Regions from separate parts of the Homo sapiens genome. Here all the other regions are linked to region 2. The links are contacts of gene promoters, found by promoter capture Hi-C in blood cells and fetal thymus (Javierre and others, 2016). All regions are on one chromosome and are shown on one strand. Each heading gives the region's core, a stretch centred on a gene start or on the middle of the fragment in contact. The rest is flanking DNA. Distances are from core to core; before and after follow the strand shown. Region 1 overlaps DNHD1 (dynein heavy chain domain 1). Region 2 holds the start of DCHS1 (dachsous cadherin-related 1). Region 3 overlaps DNHD1 (dynein heavy chain domain 1). Region 4 overlaps DNHD1 (dynein heavy chain domain 1). Region 5 has its middle 15 kb from the start of OR2AG2.

Evidence for each region. Contacts are between HindIII fragments. The CHiCAGO score rates a contact against its expected background, and 5 or more counts as called.
Region 1: a contact is called between a fragment that was not itself captured here and the fragment with the promoter of DCHS1 in region 2, in 4 of 17 cell types (activated CD4 T cells, total CD8 T cells, naive CD4 T cells and 1 more). The highest score is 6.9, in activated CD4 T cells.
Region 3: a contact is called between a fragment that was not itself captured here and the fragment with the promoter of DCHS1 in region 2, in 14 of 17 cell types (activated CD4 T cells, total CD8 T cells, megakaryocytes and 11 more). The highest score is 10.7, in activated CD4 T cells.
Region 4: a contact is called between a fragment that was not itself captured here and the fragment with the promoter of DCHS1 in region 2, in 4 of 17 cell types (non-activated CD4 T cells, total CD8 T cells, naive B cells and 1 more). The highest score is 6.2, in non-activated CD4 T cells.
Region 5: a fragment that was not itself captured here is called in contact with the fragment with the promoter of DCHS1 in region 2 in 2 of 17 cell types (non-activated CD4 T cells and activated CD4 T cells); the score reaches 7.5 in non-activated CD4 T cells.

What each region holds. Positions count from the first base shown.
Region 1 is chr11:6,550,744-6,553,624 of GRCh38, forward strand. The region is part of intron 24 of DNHD1 (dynein heavy chain domain 1); the gene reads left to right. Among named protein-coding and RNA genes, the nearest start is that of RRP8, 51 kb to the right of the region's middle. The HindIII fragment of the contact is 1,501 bases long and covers 620-2,120 here.
Region 2 is chr11:6,654,277-6,657,195 of GRCh38, forward strand. It overlaps DCHS1 (dachsous cadherin-related 1), which reads right to left and starts at 1,533. Exons shown (of 21, transcript NM_003737.4): 1 at 1,287-1,533. The HindIII fragment of the contact is 4,247 bases long and covers 1-2,919 here.
Region 3 is chr11:6,531,728-6,534,472 of GRCh38, forward strand. DNHD1 (dynein heavy chain domain 1) reads left to right here. Exons shown (of 43, transcript NM_144666.3): 13 at 1,300-1,457; 14 at 1,954-2,446. Among named protein-coding and RNA genes, the nearest start is that of DNHD1, 36 kb to the left of the region's middle. The HindIII fragment of the contact is 4,335 bases long and covers 1-2,745 here.
Region 4 is chr11:6,571,529-6,574,499 of GRCh38, forward strand. DNHD1 (dynein heavy chain domain 1) reads left to right here. Exons shown (of 43, transcript NM_144666.3): 43 at 108-492. The coding sequence ends at 458. Among named protein-coding and RNA genes, the nearest start is that of RRP8, 31 kb to the right of the region's middle. RefSeq lists an enhancer at 1-84. The HindIII fragment of the contact is 538 bases long and covers 1,186-1,723 here.
Region 5 is chr11:6,755,552-6,758,459 of GRCh38, forward strand. No RefSeq gene overlaps it. Among named protein-coding and RNA genes, the nearest start is that of OR2AG2, 15 kb to the right of the region's middle. The HindIII fragment of the contact is 1,067 bases long and covers 894-1,960 here.

The DNA.
Region 1 (2,881 bases), core at 120-2,619, 100 kb before region 2:
ACTTTAAGACAAAGGATATTACCAGAGATAGAAAAGGACATCTCATAATTGAAAGATTCAACTCATCAGAAAGACAAAAGTCTTAAATGTGTCCACACCTAAAATAGACATTTAAGTATAGGGAAAAAAAGCCAATAGAAACAAAAGAGACATAGTAAATCTGAAATCATATTAAGAAATTAATATGCCTCTCACAATAACTGATAAGACAAGGAGCAAGAAAGTAGGGACATTAAAGATCTGAATAACACTAGCAACACACTGACATTTACAAAACATTATACTCACCAACTGCAAAATGCACCTTCTTTTCAAATGCACATGAAACATTCACCAAGATAGACCATATGCTGGGTTACAAAATAAGTCTCAACAAATTTCAAAGGATTAACATTTTAAATAATATTTTATCTGACCATAACAATACAAATATTGATAAGATGCCTAGAGAATTTCCAAATTCTTTAAAATTAACACACTTCTAAATAATGTACCAAAAAAGAAATTACAAGAGAAATTAGAGAATGTTTTGAACTAAATAATAATGAAAACAAAACATATCAAAATTTGTGAGATGCAACTAAAGGTTATAGCTTTAAATATCTATCTTAGAGAGAAAAGCTTGGAATCAATGACCTAAATTTTCAGCTTAAGACTCTAGAAAAAGAAGAGCAAGTTATACCCAAAGCAATTAAAAGGAAATCAATAATAAAGAACAGAGCAGAAATCAGTGAAATAGAAAAACATACAAACAATGGAGAATATCAACAAAGCCATATTTTGTTTCTTTGAAAAAGATAAAATTGACAATCGCCTATTAACACAAATCAAGAAATGAAAAGGAAAACATAAATTTTGAATATCAGGAATGAAAGAGGTTTTATTAAAGATATTTAAAAGGATAAAAAGGGAGCCAGGGCCGGGCACTGTGGCTCACGCCTGTAATCCCGGCACTTTGGGAGGCCAAGGAGGGCAGATCACGAGGTCAGGAGATGGAGACCATCCTGGCCAACATGGTGAAACCCCGTCTCTACTAAAAATGCAAAAATTAGCTGGGCATGGTGGCATGTACCTGTAATCACAGCTACTCGGGAGGCTGAGGCAGGAGAATTGCTTGAACCAGGGAGGTGGAAGTTGCGGTGAGCTGAGATTTGCACCACTGCACTCCAGCCTGGTGACAGAGCGAGACTCCGTCTCCAAAAAAAAAAAGGGGAGCCAGGCATGGTGGCATGCACCTGTAATCCCAGCTACTAGGGAGGGAGGCTTAGGCAGGAGGATTTCTTAAGGCCAGGAGTTCAAGACCAGCCTGGGCAGCATAGTGGGACCCTCATTTAAAAAAAAAAGTTTTAAAAAATGGATAATAAGGGAAAATTATGAAAAACTTTATGCTAATAAATTTAGCAACTTAGGTGAAATGGATACATGCTGTATTAGTCTGTTTTCACACTGCAATAAAGAACTACTTGAGACTGGGTAATTCATAAAGAAAAGAGGGTTAGGCCAGGCATGGTGGCTCACGCCTGTAATCCCAGCACTTTGGGAGGCTGAGGCAGGTTGATCCCTTGAGGTCAGGAGTTTGAGACCAGCCTGGCCAACATGGTGAAACCCCATCTCTACTAAAAATACAAAAATTAGCTGGGTGTGGTGGGGGTCACCTGTAATCCCAACTACTTGGGAGGCTGAGGCAGGAGAATCGCTTGAACCTGGGAGGCAGAGGTTGCAACGAGCCAGGATCACGCCATTGCACTCCAGCCTGGGTGACAAGAGCAAAACTTCGTCCCAAAAAATATATATATATAAGTAGGTTTAATTGACTCACAGTTCCGCATGGATGGGGAGCCCTCAGGAAACTTAAAGTCGTGGCAAAAGGCGAAGGGGAGGCAAGGCACATCTTACATAGCAGTTGGCGGGGGCGGGGTGGGGTGAAGAGATGTACCATCAGAACTTATGAGAAATTGCTCACTATCATGAGAACAGCATGGGGGAAGCCGGCCCCGTGATCCACTCACCTCCCACCAGGTCCCTCCCTCAACATATGGGGATTACAATTCAAGACAAAATTTGGTTGGGGACACAGAGCCAAACCATATCACATGCCTTACAAAAACATAACTTGTCAAAGCTTGAACAAAAGAAGAAAAATAATAGAAAATGAACAGCCTCATACCTAAGAAAAGTTTGAATGCATAATAAATGTTTCCAGTCCCAGATGGTTATACAGTTGAATTATATCAAATATTTAGAAAAAAAGTACAACTTATATATACTTTTTCAGAAAATGGAGAATACTAAGCCATGATGAAGACATTTCAAGCAAAGAAATAAACTGTTATCTTTCATAAACCTAAATGCAAAAATAAATCCTCACTGAAATATTATTAAATAAAATTCAGCAACATACAAAAAGAATAATATCTTAAGACCAAACGGAGTCTATCCTGGGAAGGCAAAGCTGACTAAACATTGAAAAATCAATCAGTGTAGCTCACATTAACAGAATAAAGGAGCAAATGAGTAAGTAATATTAGTAGATAAAAATCACTTGACAAAATTCCAACACTATTCCATAACTCCCAGGAAACTAGGAATAGAAGATAACTTTCTCAATTTGATGAAAAGCATCTATTATACTTACAGCTAAATACATACTTAATGGTTAAATATTGAATACTGTCCCCCTAAAATCAGTTAAAAGGCAAGAACATACTCACTGCTTCTATTCAACACTGTACTGGAGACCACATCGACGCAATTAAGAAAAAGAAATAAAAGCTTTTAAAATTAGAAAAGACAAGTTAAAACTGTCTGTATTGGCATGTAATATGATTGTCTACATAGAGACCCCAAAGGAATATTTTTTTAAACCCCATAAAAAACTACT
Region 2 (2,919 bases), core at 283-2,782:
TCCTGTTAGTGACAGGCTTCTAGGACACCCACTATGTATGGGCAGCTCCAAGGAAGTAAACCTAATAAGATGTGCTGTGACAGTTGTGACAGTGCTTCTGATGGATGTGGATTGCAGTGACAATGTCTCCTGAGAGGTGCTGGTCTACTTGTTTGTTGCTGGTGACAGTGTTTCTGGAGAGTGTTAGCAGTAACAATGTCTTCCATGGTATGTGTTGGCCTTGACAATGAACCGGTGGGAGTATGTTGGTTGCAGCATTTCTCCTGTGGGTGTGTGTTGTCATGAGAGCATTTTCCGTAGGTGTGTGTTGGCTTGATAGAGTCTGCTGTAGGTGTGTGTTGGTTCTGACTGGGGGTGCTTCCTGGGGGTGGGCTTCCTGGAAGTGTATGATGGCTGTGAGGGTATCTCTTGAGGATGTGTGTTCCCTGGGACTGTGTCCTCTTGTGGGTTGAGTAGGGCTATGACTGTGTCCCTATGGGTATTTGAGAAGTTGACATAAGCGACAATATTTTTCTGGCCTATGACCTTGTGGCTGTGGGCCCAGCCCGCCACACTGAGTTCATTGTGCTTCTAGACCTCCCTCTCCCCACCCCCTCCACGTGGGACCCACGCCTGCGGTGACCTTGCTCTGTCCCCTGCACGGGATTCTGAGCTGGGTATCCCAGACACAAACTCCCAGTTGCTCCAATCTCCCACTCAGAACACGTCTGGGTGACCCCCCCCTCCATCCACTTCAGGCTGTGCCTGCCTCTCCTCTGCTTCTCTGTACTTCTCCCCACTCAGTTTCTTTGTCTCTGTCTCAGTTGGTCTCTGTCACACACCCATCCTCCACATTCTGACACATGGGCTCCCACAGAGCGGGCAACACACCCTCACAGGGACTCGCTCACCATGACACACGGTCATTCTGACCCTCACACCCTCAGAGTGACACGCACATGCACACACAGCCAGAGAGACGCCCAGGGACACACAACCTCCCAGTGACACGCACTGACACACTCCGACGATGCACTGGAACACAACGCTGTCGCACCCCACACCCCCGGCGCACGCTCCCGCCGCCACCCTCCCCGACTCGATGACACACGCACACAAAGACCCCCAGGCCCTGCCCCCACGCTCACGTTCACGCCCGCCCGGGTCCCGCAGGCCCAGGCCCCCCCTCCCCCATTGTCTCCGGCTCAGAACAAAGCCCCCGGCTCCGCCGCCGCTGCCGCAGCCCAGGGGAGGCCGGCGGGCAGGGCGGGCGCGGCCAGACGGGCCGGGCGGGCGCGGGCACTGACCTCCGCGCGACGCGGGCTCCCTCGCCCGGTGCTGGGGCGCCGTCCGGCCGCGGTCAGCCCCCCGGGCAGCGCCCGCTCGCGCGGGGCCTGAGGCCGCGCATCGTCCGCAGTCGCTGTCTCCGAGGCCCGCGATCCCCTCCGGGCAGCCGCCGTCGGTCCGCGCGCCCTTGGCCGTCGATCGGTCCGTCCGCTGACGCCCGGGCGCCGCCTCCTGCACAGCCGCCCCGCCGAGGATGCGAGCTCCGCTGCCGCGGCCCCGCGCCCCCTCCCCTCCCCTCCCCCCGCCCTCCGCGCGGTAACCCGAGCCCCCGCCCCTCCGCCCGCGGAGCCCCCGCCCCCGCCCCCACCCGCGCTCCGCGCCGCCGCCCCCCCTTCCCCCCGGCGCCCGCCCGGCCTCCCTCCGCCCCTCCACTTCCCGGCCCCAGGCCCCGGCTCCGGATCCGGCCCCAGCGCCGCGCCGCGCCCCCGTCCCGGTTCCCTTCCCTTCTCCCCGTCACTTCTCCCGTCCTCTCCTCCCATTCGGTTCTCTACGCCCTCTCGTCTCTTCCCCTTCTCGCCGCTCCCTGCTGCTCACCTCCTCCTCTTCCATCTTCTTTCCATCCCCTATTCCCCTCTTCTCCCTCAGTGCCCTGGTCTCCCTCTCGCCCCTTCTTTTTCCCAACCGTCATCTCCATTCCCCTCTGCCTTTCTCCCATCCTCTTCTTCTCGCCCCATCTCCATCATTTTCTCCCCAGCTCTTCTCCCCTTTCTCTTCTCCTTACCCCTTCTGCTTGATCTCTCTCCAGCCTCTTTACATCAGATTCTCCTTCCCCACCTCTCCTTTTATCCTTTTCTTCCTATCCCTTTCTCCCCGTCTCTTCTCCCCACCTTTCTCCCCATCCCCTTCTCCCTGTGTCTTTCGCCTCACCTCATCATCCCCTTTTCCTCACGCCTTCTCCTCATTCCCTTTTCTCACCCCTGCCCTTTTCACTACCCGCTGTCTCTTCCCCTTCTTCCATCGTAACCTCGGCCTTCTCCCCTGTTAGTCACTTTTCATTATCCCATGATTTCTGTCTCTTTTCTCTCCTTCACCCCCAGGCTCCCTTTCCCCCACTTTCTCTTTATCCCAAATTTGAGGGTAGAGATCGGGAGATATTGGAAAGAAGAGCTTTGGGGATGGTGGTCCCACTCACGATATACTCCCTAGAAAAATTAAGTGAGGAGGAAACCGGGCAGGGAAGTGGGAAGGGGCTCAAAAAACCAACTTGGGAGAGAATATGGGGAGAGGGGAAATCAGACAGAGACAAAGAGCAAGCAATCTTAAAGGAACTGGGAAGAGTTCTGACTCCTGTCCTTCTTCCTTAGGACTGCGAGTAGACTGTGAGAAAAACAGGTTTTCTGGACTTGAGATGTGTACAAATGGCACAAAGAAATCAGGAACTTCTGTGGAGAAGGAACACAGTTTCAGCTGAAGAAGAAGGGAGTGTGATTTTGGAAGAGGAGTGAGGGAGAGACTGGGGTCCTTGATCATATCCACGGCGCTTGGGCAGCTGGGTGGATGGATGGTGGTGAGGCTGGCTGTGCTCCACAAAAGGAGCAGCAGGAGGCTGCAGGGGGTTCGTATGAGGAGATGATGACTGTGACTTGGGGCTGC
Region 3 (2,745 bases), core at 37-2,536, 120 kb before region 2:
CAAGTCTCTGAAAGTGACATACCCAGTATGTCTCAATTATCTGTCCCCCAAACTCACTATTTTACTTACTAGTTGCAGAGATGCTAATAGAGGATCGGTCAGTTTACTTTGCACATAACATAAAAAATATTTTTAAATACTTTTTATAAACATATATTTTTATGTTTACATTTATATTTATAACATAAACATGTTTATATTTAAAATATAATGAAGTGGAGCCATGCTGCCTGAGTCTGAATCCTTGCTCTGCCACTGTGTGATGTTGATCAAGTGACATAACCTCTCTGAGCTTCAGTTTGCTTATCTGTAAAATAATAGTATTTACTTCAAAGGGAATTTGTGAGGATAAAATATAATTAAAGTACTTGAAATAGTGTCTGGTATGTAGAAAGCACTCTATACTCTATTTGGTGTACCATATTTCTATATTGTATTTTTCCTATTCTGTGCATATTTTAACATCTCTGAACTTTAAAGGTGTCTCATGATTGAAGATGTGTTAGAGTTTAGATGGCATCAGTTTTTTTTCTTTGTTAGTGGTATATAAAATAATGGTGCTTCTTACAACGGGATCTTAGATTTTATGAGGTATCATATGGGTGTTATCCCTGCCCTCTGAGATAATAAAGTTGTTCATACTGCCAAGGGCAGCTTCCAGGATTACTTTCTAGCCCCTTATCCACCTGAGACTTTCTTTACTTTAATCCTTAAAAACAAAAGGCAGATCATACTACCTTCTTGGTCCCCTTCTTCTAGAGCAAGGGCAGTAAGACTCCAAAACCAGAATACTTTTATGTCTGCTAGGATACTCTGCTATTCACAAACATGTCATTTCCATACTGTTGCACACACTGTTTCATCTTTTTGGAGAATTAATACTCAACACATCCAACTCCAGTGTTCCCTTCTCTGAAGGGGCCTTGCCCAGCCTTCTCAGGATACCCCCCGGCACCCCCACCTCTTAGCTATACTGGCTGAAGGCTCCAGGCACTCACAGTGGATTTATCACACTGATTTGTGATTGCTCATTTGTATGTCTGTCTCTGCCTCATATTGTGAGCTTTTCAGGGTGGGGAAACTTTCTGTCTCATTCATTTGCTCTCGTCTACCAGTATAGAGCACAGTCCCCAGTGCATAGCAGCTGACTGGACATTGAGCAGGGATTCAACAAGCATTAAATGAGATAATTCATGGTCTGACCTGCCATTCAGCCTACTCCCACTCTGGACCACAGCACTGTCCCCAGCACCCCTTCTTTTTTATGCGTCCCCTCACACCTTACTCTCCTGTCTCCAGAATCCAAGCTGAACAGCATAAGGAAGGACATTCTTGCACACGTGCAAAATGAGTGCTGGAACCTCAGTCAACAACTCATGACAGAGCTCACAGATTTCATGCATATCTTCCGAACCATCAACTCAGATATTCATGCCATTGCACAGTGCACCCAGAAGGTGGGCTCTCCCCATCCATCCTTCCCAGTTTATTCAGGGCCCATCCTGCTCAAAAGCTCAGCACACTCTCTTCAGGTCTCTGCTGAGCCCCCAGCAGAGCTTGATGCTCTTAAACTGTGCTCGCCTAAGAGATCTACCCTTGCTAATTCTTACCCTGTCCATGTGGCCCTCAGGTTCCTCATGTCACAGGGAGGCCCTGGTGTGATGAGAGAGTTGTGCTCTCTGTGACAGTCAGATAGAAAATTGTTGCCTTGTCATCAAGGTAATGGGGTGGTGGGTGAGAAGTGGACCCTTCACCAGAGAGATCTGGGTCAGAGAGAGATTTGATCCCTCTGGAGAGATCCCTCAGGAGAGATTGCCCCTGATTCCAGTTGATTACAAGGCTGCAACTGGGTCTGGAGACTTCACTCCAAAAGGTGGGAGTTCCCCTTGGGGATGGGACCAAAGAGGTACATGGGGTTGTGGGGCTGCCGGTCTCATGCTGTAATTCCTGCAGTTGAATGAAGCCAATGAACAGTACGTCGAGCTGGAGGAGCGAATGGAATACGTACGGGCACTCCACGAACTCATCCGCAACCACTTTAGCCTCTTTAGTGCTGAGAATGAAGCACTGGACATCTCGGTGAGAAGGCAATTCGGGGAGTCACCCATCCCTCCCTGCCCTCCTCCCCCACAACCACATCTACTCCACTGCCCTCTGCTTGCCCCACAGCTTCTGGATATGTGGGAGGCATTTCAGTTTGAGAAAAGCCAGGCTTCAGAGTTCCTGCTCAGCAAGCGACATGCCATTATGCCCAAGCTGCAGCAGCTGATGGCAGCAGCATTGGCAGAGCTGGAAGGCCTGCTTGCGAAGGCCCTCTCCGGTCCCTTTATGGACCCCACACAAGATCAGAGGAGTACTGAGCACCAGCTCGTCTCCCTAGAGCGTCAGTTCCAGAACACAGTCAGCGACCTCAGTGAACTGCACCACGCCTATGCCATCTTCACTGGTACTGAGGATCCCTGCACCCTCCATTATCACTCTGTGATAGACCCTTCAACTGAAGTAAGAGTTGGAACTCAGGGTTCTGTGTCCTGTATGACCCCAAGCAAGCCTTGGGAATCACACACCTTCACTGGTGTCTTTTATAAATGAAAATTTCAGGACAAAAACATCATATATTGACCATGGCAGGTGTTGTGCTTAGGGTGGGGGTATGGGGGCTCACAGTCTGGTAAGGAAGGCAAACAAGTGAATGTTCCATCAGAATGTGATGGGGTCAGGGGCTAAAAGCATGTGTGGGAGAAA
Region 4 (2,971 bases), core at 205-2,704, 83 kb before region 2:
GCTTCTCCGATCTCGCTTCACCACGACCTCCTACCCGCTAACCCCCACTTCCCACCTGCCACCTCCCAGCTTCCTAGCCTTGCCTGACCAGCTTCTGACGCCCCCAGGTGGAGAATGGTCCAAATCCCACGGTTCCAGAGAGAGGGCTGCTGCTGATCGGGCTACAGGTCCTACATGCGGAGTGGGACCCAATAGCTGGAGCCTTGCAGGACAGTCCTTCCAGCCAACCCAGCCCTCTGCCTCCCGTCAGCATCAGCACACAGGCCCCGGGCACCAGTGACCTGCCAGCCCCAGCCGACCTGACTGTGTACTCGTGTCCTGTGTACATGGGAGGGCCCCTTGGCACCGCTAAGCTGCAGAGCAGGAACATCGTGATGCATCTGCCTTTACCCACCAAGCTCACCCCCAACACCTGTGTCCAAAGGAGGGTCCATGTGTGCAGCCCACCCCTGTCTTGAGCCCGTCTACCAAAATAAAGTTGTAGTGATTCCATGAAAGATTTCTGAGATATGGGGGTAGAGTAGGGTGTGTGCACACCAAGAAGGCAGAATGTGACACACTAGGAGAAAGGTACAGTGTGCATAACTGAGAAAAGAGGAGGTATATTCACACCGAAGGTAGAAGAGGGCATGTGCCTGGCAGCCGGGAAGGGGAAAGTGTGGGTACAGTTGGGGTGGGGTGGGACTTGGTGTTAATCATGTATCCAAGAAGCTAGGCAGACCCAGCAGTGGCTGACACACAGAATCCTAAATCCTTGCCCCGCTCTCTACTGTGGTCTCAGCACTTGTGCTAAATCCACAAGGGATATGTTTGAAAGGAGAACATTAGCACTCAAAATTCTTTCTTAAGGCATTTAGTGGTGTTCTTGGCAGTGCCTCAATCCTGCCCTACCACTCATTCCTCTCCTACGATGGATTCTCTCAGTGAGTCATGCATATGAAAAAAGCCAAGTAAGATACAAGGTCCTATGTTCATTCAACAATTATTCATTGAGCATTCCTTGGAACCAGGTATTCTTCTATGTGCTAATAAGGTTATTCTAGTGTAGGGCAACAGGCAATAAAAGGCCAACATATAAATAATTTTGATGATTTTGAAGTCCTATAAAGAAAACAAAATAGACCGATGCGTCAAGAGGGTATGTGATGAGACGGGAGCAGTTAGTATAATCTGAGTGGTCAAGGAAGCTTTCTGCATATTTGAAAGTAGCTATTTAAAGATCTAGAAGGAATATTCATTCAGGTAGAGCCCTCAGTAGGTACAAAAGTCTTGAGGCAGGAACAACCTTGAAGTGTTCAAGAAACAGCGTATGCAGCCAGAGCATGGCGAGTGAGGGGCAGAGCGACCCAAAATGATGGGAACGTATAGAAAGGGGTGGCTCACGTGGCCGTGGTAATGATCTTGTATTTTTCAAAAGTATAATGAGAATGTATTGTCAAATAGTAGGTGGGAGAGTATATGATCTAATTTGCATTTTTTCAAAGGTCACTCTGCCTGTTCTATGGTGGATGGATGCTAGAAAAGCCAGGGTGACAAGGTAGAAGATCTATTTGGACCCAACTGAAGTAATTCAAGTAAGGGATAATGGAGTTTGGGCAAGGGTTTAAATAGAGATGAAGAACTGACAGATTTAAGAACTATTCTGGAGGTAAAACCAGCAGGACTGATGGAATGGATGTGGAGAATAAAGGAAGAGGAAGAATCTAGGGTGATTTGGATTTTAAGCTTGAGAAACTAGGTGTATCATGTGTCATTAACTGAGATGGGAAATTTGAGGGAGCAAGCAGCTGGAGCTAAGGAATCAAGAGTTCTGCTGCTTTGATATTTTCTGTTATTATTAGTTGCATGACTGCCTGCTAGGCCAGGGCGAGCCTGTCCGACAAAAGTTGAGTTAGAGTATGGCAGAACCAAAGGCCTATATGAGCTTCACTCCTTGCCCCCAAGCATCAAAACTTACGTAGTATTAATAAACTCAGCTCCCTTGCTCTATGGCTAGGTACCAGCTACGTGGTGGGAGGAAATGCAAACAGAAGTGTATACAGGCATACTTGAAGCTATTGTGGGTTTGGTTCCAGACCACCACAATAAGGCGAATATTGCAAGTCACATGAACTTTTTGGTTTCCCACTGCATATGGGTTACATTTACACTATATTGTAGTCTATTAAGCATGAAATAGCATTATGTTAAGTTAAAAAAAAAAACAAGGTATACCAGCCTGGCCAACATGGTGAAACCCTGTCTCTACTAAAAATACAAAAATTAGCGAGGTGTGGTGACGGGCACCTGTAATCCAAGCTACTCAGGAGACTGAGGCAGCAGAAGAATCTCTTGAACCCAGGAGGTGGAGGTTGCAGCGAGCCGAGATTGTGCCACTGTACTCCAGCCTGGGTGACAGAGCAAGACCCTGTCTAAAAAAAAAAAAAAAAAAAAAATTGCATACCTTAGTTTAAAAATACTTTATTGCTAAAAATGCTAATAATCATCTGAGCCTTCAGCAAATAGTAATCTTTTTGCTAGTAATCTTTTTTGCCTTAATATTGATAGCTGCTGATCAGGGTGGTGACTGCTGAAGGTTGTGGCAATTTCTTAAAATAAAACAACAGTGAATACGAGTCCATATCAATGGACTCATATTTTCATGAAGAATTTGTCTGTGGCATGTGATGGTGTTTTACAGCATTTTACCTACAGAACTTATTTCAAAATTGGAGTTAATCCTCTCAAACCCTGCTGTTCCTTTATTAACTAAGTTTATGTAATATTCTAAATCATTTGTTGTCATTTCAACAATGTTCACAGCATCAGAAATATAGATTCCATCTCAAGAAACCACTTTCTTTGCTGATCCATAAGAGCAACTGCTCACCCATTAAAGTTTTATCATGAGATTACAGTAACTCAGTCATATCTTCAGGCTCCACTTCTTATTCTAATTCTCTTGCTGCTTCCACCACATCTGCAGTTACTT
Region 5 (2,908 bases), core at 177-2,676, 100 kb after region 2:
GAGCAGATCAGGATACTGAATTCTGAGATTTTCCCAACTCCAGCACAGTTAACATTTAGGGCCAGATAATTTATTGTGGGGAACTGTTCTGTGCATTATAGGATGTCTAGCAGCACCTCTGGCCTCTACTCACTAGATGCTAGCAGCACTCCTCACAGTTATGACAACAAAAATGTCTCTAAACATTGTCAAATGTCCTTAAAATATTTGGATTGCCCCATTGAGAGCTACTATGAAATGTGATGTTTAAGTTTTAAATATGAAAACAGAAAAGAATCAAATTTTGATGGAATTTTTGAAAATCTTTGTTGTTGTTTTTTTTTTTAAATAACGTGTAGTCACTGAAAAAATGTTTGAAAATGTAGGAAAACATAAGAAAGAAAAAAGCACACAAAATCCCACCATTCAAATTACCTTCTGTGAACATTTTAATAGCAATTCTTTCAGGCATATAGACACATAGTTAAATATGTATAATTTTGCATTTATGGCAATGTATAGTATATATACTCTCCTATAATCTCATTTTCACTCAAAATCTACTAGGGATATCTTTCTAGGTCAACAAATATTGGTATAGTTTAATAATTAACTTTAAAGCCTACATAATATCCCTTTGTATGTAATTAACCAGGTCACTACTGACAGCCAACCAGGTTCCTACATTTTCACTATTATAAATAGCACGGCAATTAACATCTTTGAGCATAGGTTTTTGCACAGCTTGAGAGTGAGATTATTTCACACTCATTTCCTATGTGTCTACAATTTTGCCAGGACCCAGAGCTTTAGGGAGTAGATTAGACATAGATTTTCTTCCAAGGATGTGCAAAAACTGGTGGAAAGAATGCGAACGGTATAATGGGAATGTTTCTAACACAAATAAATATGAAAGCTTGAGGTGATGGGTACCCCATTTACTCTGATGTGATTATCATGTGTTCCTGCATTAAAATATCTCATGTACCCCATAAATATATACACCTACTATGTGTATATATATATATATACAAATTAAAAAATAAAATAAAATAAAATAAAATTCCTTTATATACCAGAAGAATGTGAACAGAAGACAGAATAAAATATAAGTAGCATGGAAATGCAAGGTGTAAACATTGACAAAAGATGAAGACATAACTGATTGGATGTCAGGGATATCTTCACAAACATGAGCCTTGAAATAGGTAATATAAAAATTAATCTCAGCTCCTTTCTCTTCAACTATAGTTGTTGCAGCAATCACTTGTTTAAATGCCGATTTCTCTATTTCCCCTGCTCCCTGTGTGAGGGCCATAGCCAGGTTTCTCTTCTCCCTCTTTTTTATATCCTATGTTTATTACAGGGTCTCACACTTATCTTTAGTAAAGTTTGCTGAATGGAGGTATTCATGAGAAACTTTCCTGCCTGAAGAGCATTCTCTAAAACAAAGAGAAGGAAGAATTACATAGCAGAAATAGGTCTATGGATTCAAGTTCAAATTCTCTCCAACTTCCCAAACTCAAAGACAGATAGGAAACAGAAACAGGAAAGAGAGAATGGAAGAAAAAAAGGTAAATTAATATGCCCTTCTGTGATCTCTCACTCTTTCTCTTTCTGTGATTCTCTTTCCTCTTTTGAAAACCTTATCCAAGGAGAAATATCAATGACTTCAGAAGGGCAATAGGGGGTGATCCTAAGGCTTATACTATGACTCAGATAACGTACAGAAACATTTTACTCTCTTTATTTTAGTCTATAATTTGATATTCGTCTCAAATCCCCATCCACTGGTTAGCAGGAGAAAAAAACAACAAACCAAACTAATAGTTCAATCTAATTTTCATTTAGTCTAACCTGACAATTTAGTATATTTTTAGGAATTATTCATTCTCTGTTGGATAAAATGATGCTTGATTACTAAGAAAGCCTTCCCCTGCTTCTCATCCCAATGTGTGGTGGAAAGAGTGTGGTTTATTCAAGCTTCTGGTGCTGAGAAGGAACTCTAGCCTCAGCCTTGTTTTTCTGTTGCAGCAGCTCCATCTGCTGGTCTCTCGAGCACTGTTTTTTATGAACCTAGTTGTTCAGCATTCTGCAGGACACCACTGCTGAACTGGCTAGTTCACATGGGGTCTACACTTTCTACAGGGACAATGTTTCTGAGTTGCTAATGCTGTAAGAAAAATTTTGCTGTCTGCATAACCCTGAGTTGATTGCCACATCCTCCAGCCTACAAGTTGGTCCAGCATTCCACACTCTGTTATTGTCAAGTCAACTCATTCGGCTATGGAGGCCTATAAGAGCCCACCAGGTTTCAATTCAGTATCTAAATCACATAAAAACTCAAGGCATCTTTGTAAAGTTAAACCCCAGGGGCTCTCTCTACTTGACTGTGATGTGCTACATTTCTGTGACTGAGTCCTAAAGTTGATGCATGGCATAATTAATCCATTTGGATGTCAAAAGACTAATATTACCTCAGTCTTATTTCTCTCTACTTTTCTTTCATAAAGAATTCTAACTCCTTCCAGACAAATGAATGTCTCCGGTAGAGTAAGAAGATGCTTTAATTATGACACTTTTACCTACATCTTCATCTTCACTTTTGTTGTCTGATAAGGTCAAAGCCTTATCCTGTGCTCTGTTCACTGCACCTCCAGGTGTTTAGTCTGGAAAGCTTGAGATGTGGAAGATCAGTGGGAGAGAGACTAGAAGAAAACGGCCTGCTCACACCACATGATACCGGTCTTGAATTCTCACAGACATAAACACCTTTCTTTATTTATAATATTCTTTCATCATAATTAAGAATCTGGCATGTCGGGAGCTTGTCCATTCATCCAATACACATTCGCAGAGTACCTATTATGTGCAGTGTGCTCTGACCAGCACAATGTGTAAGCTACTGTGTTAATTTTCTATTCCTGCT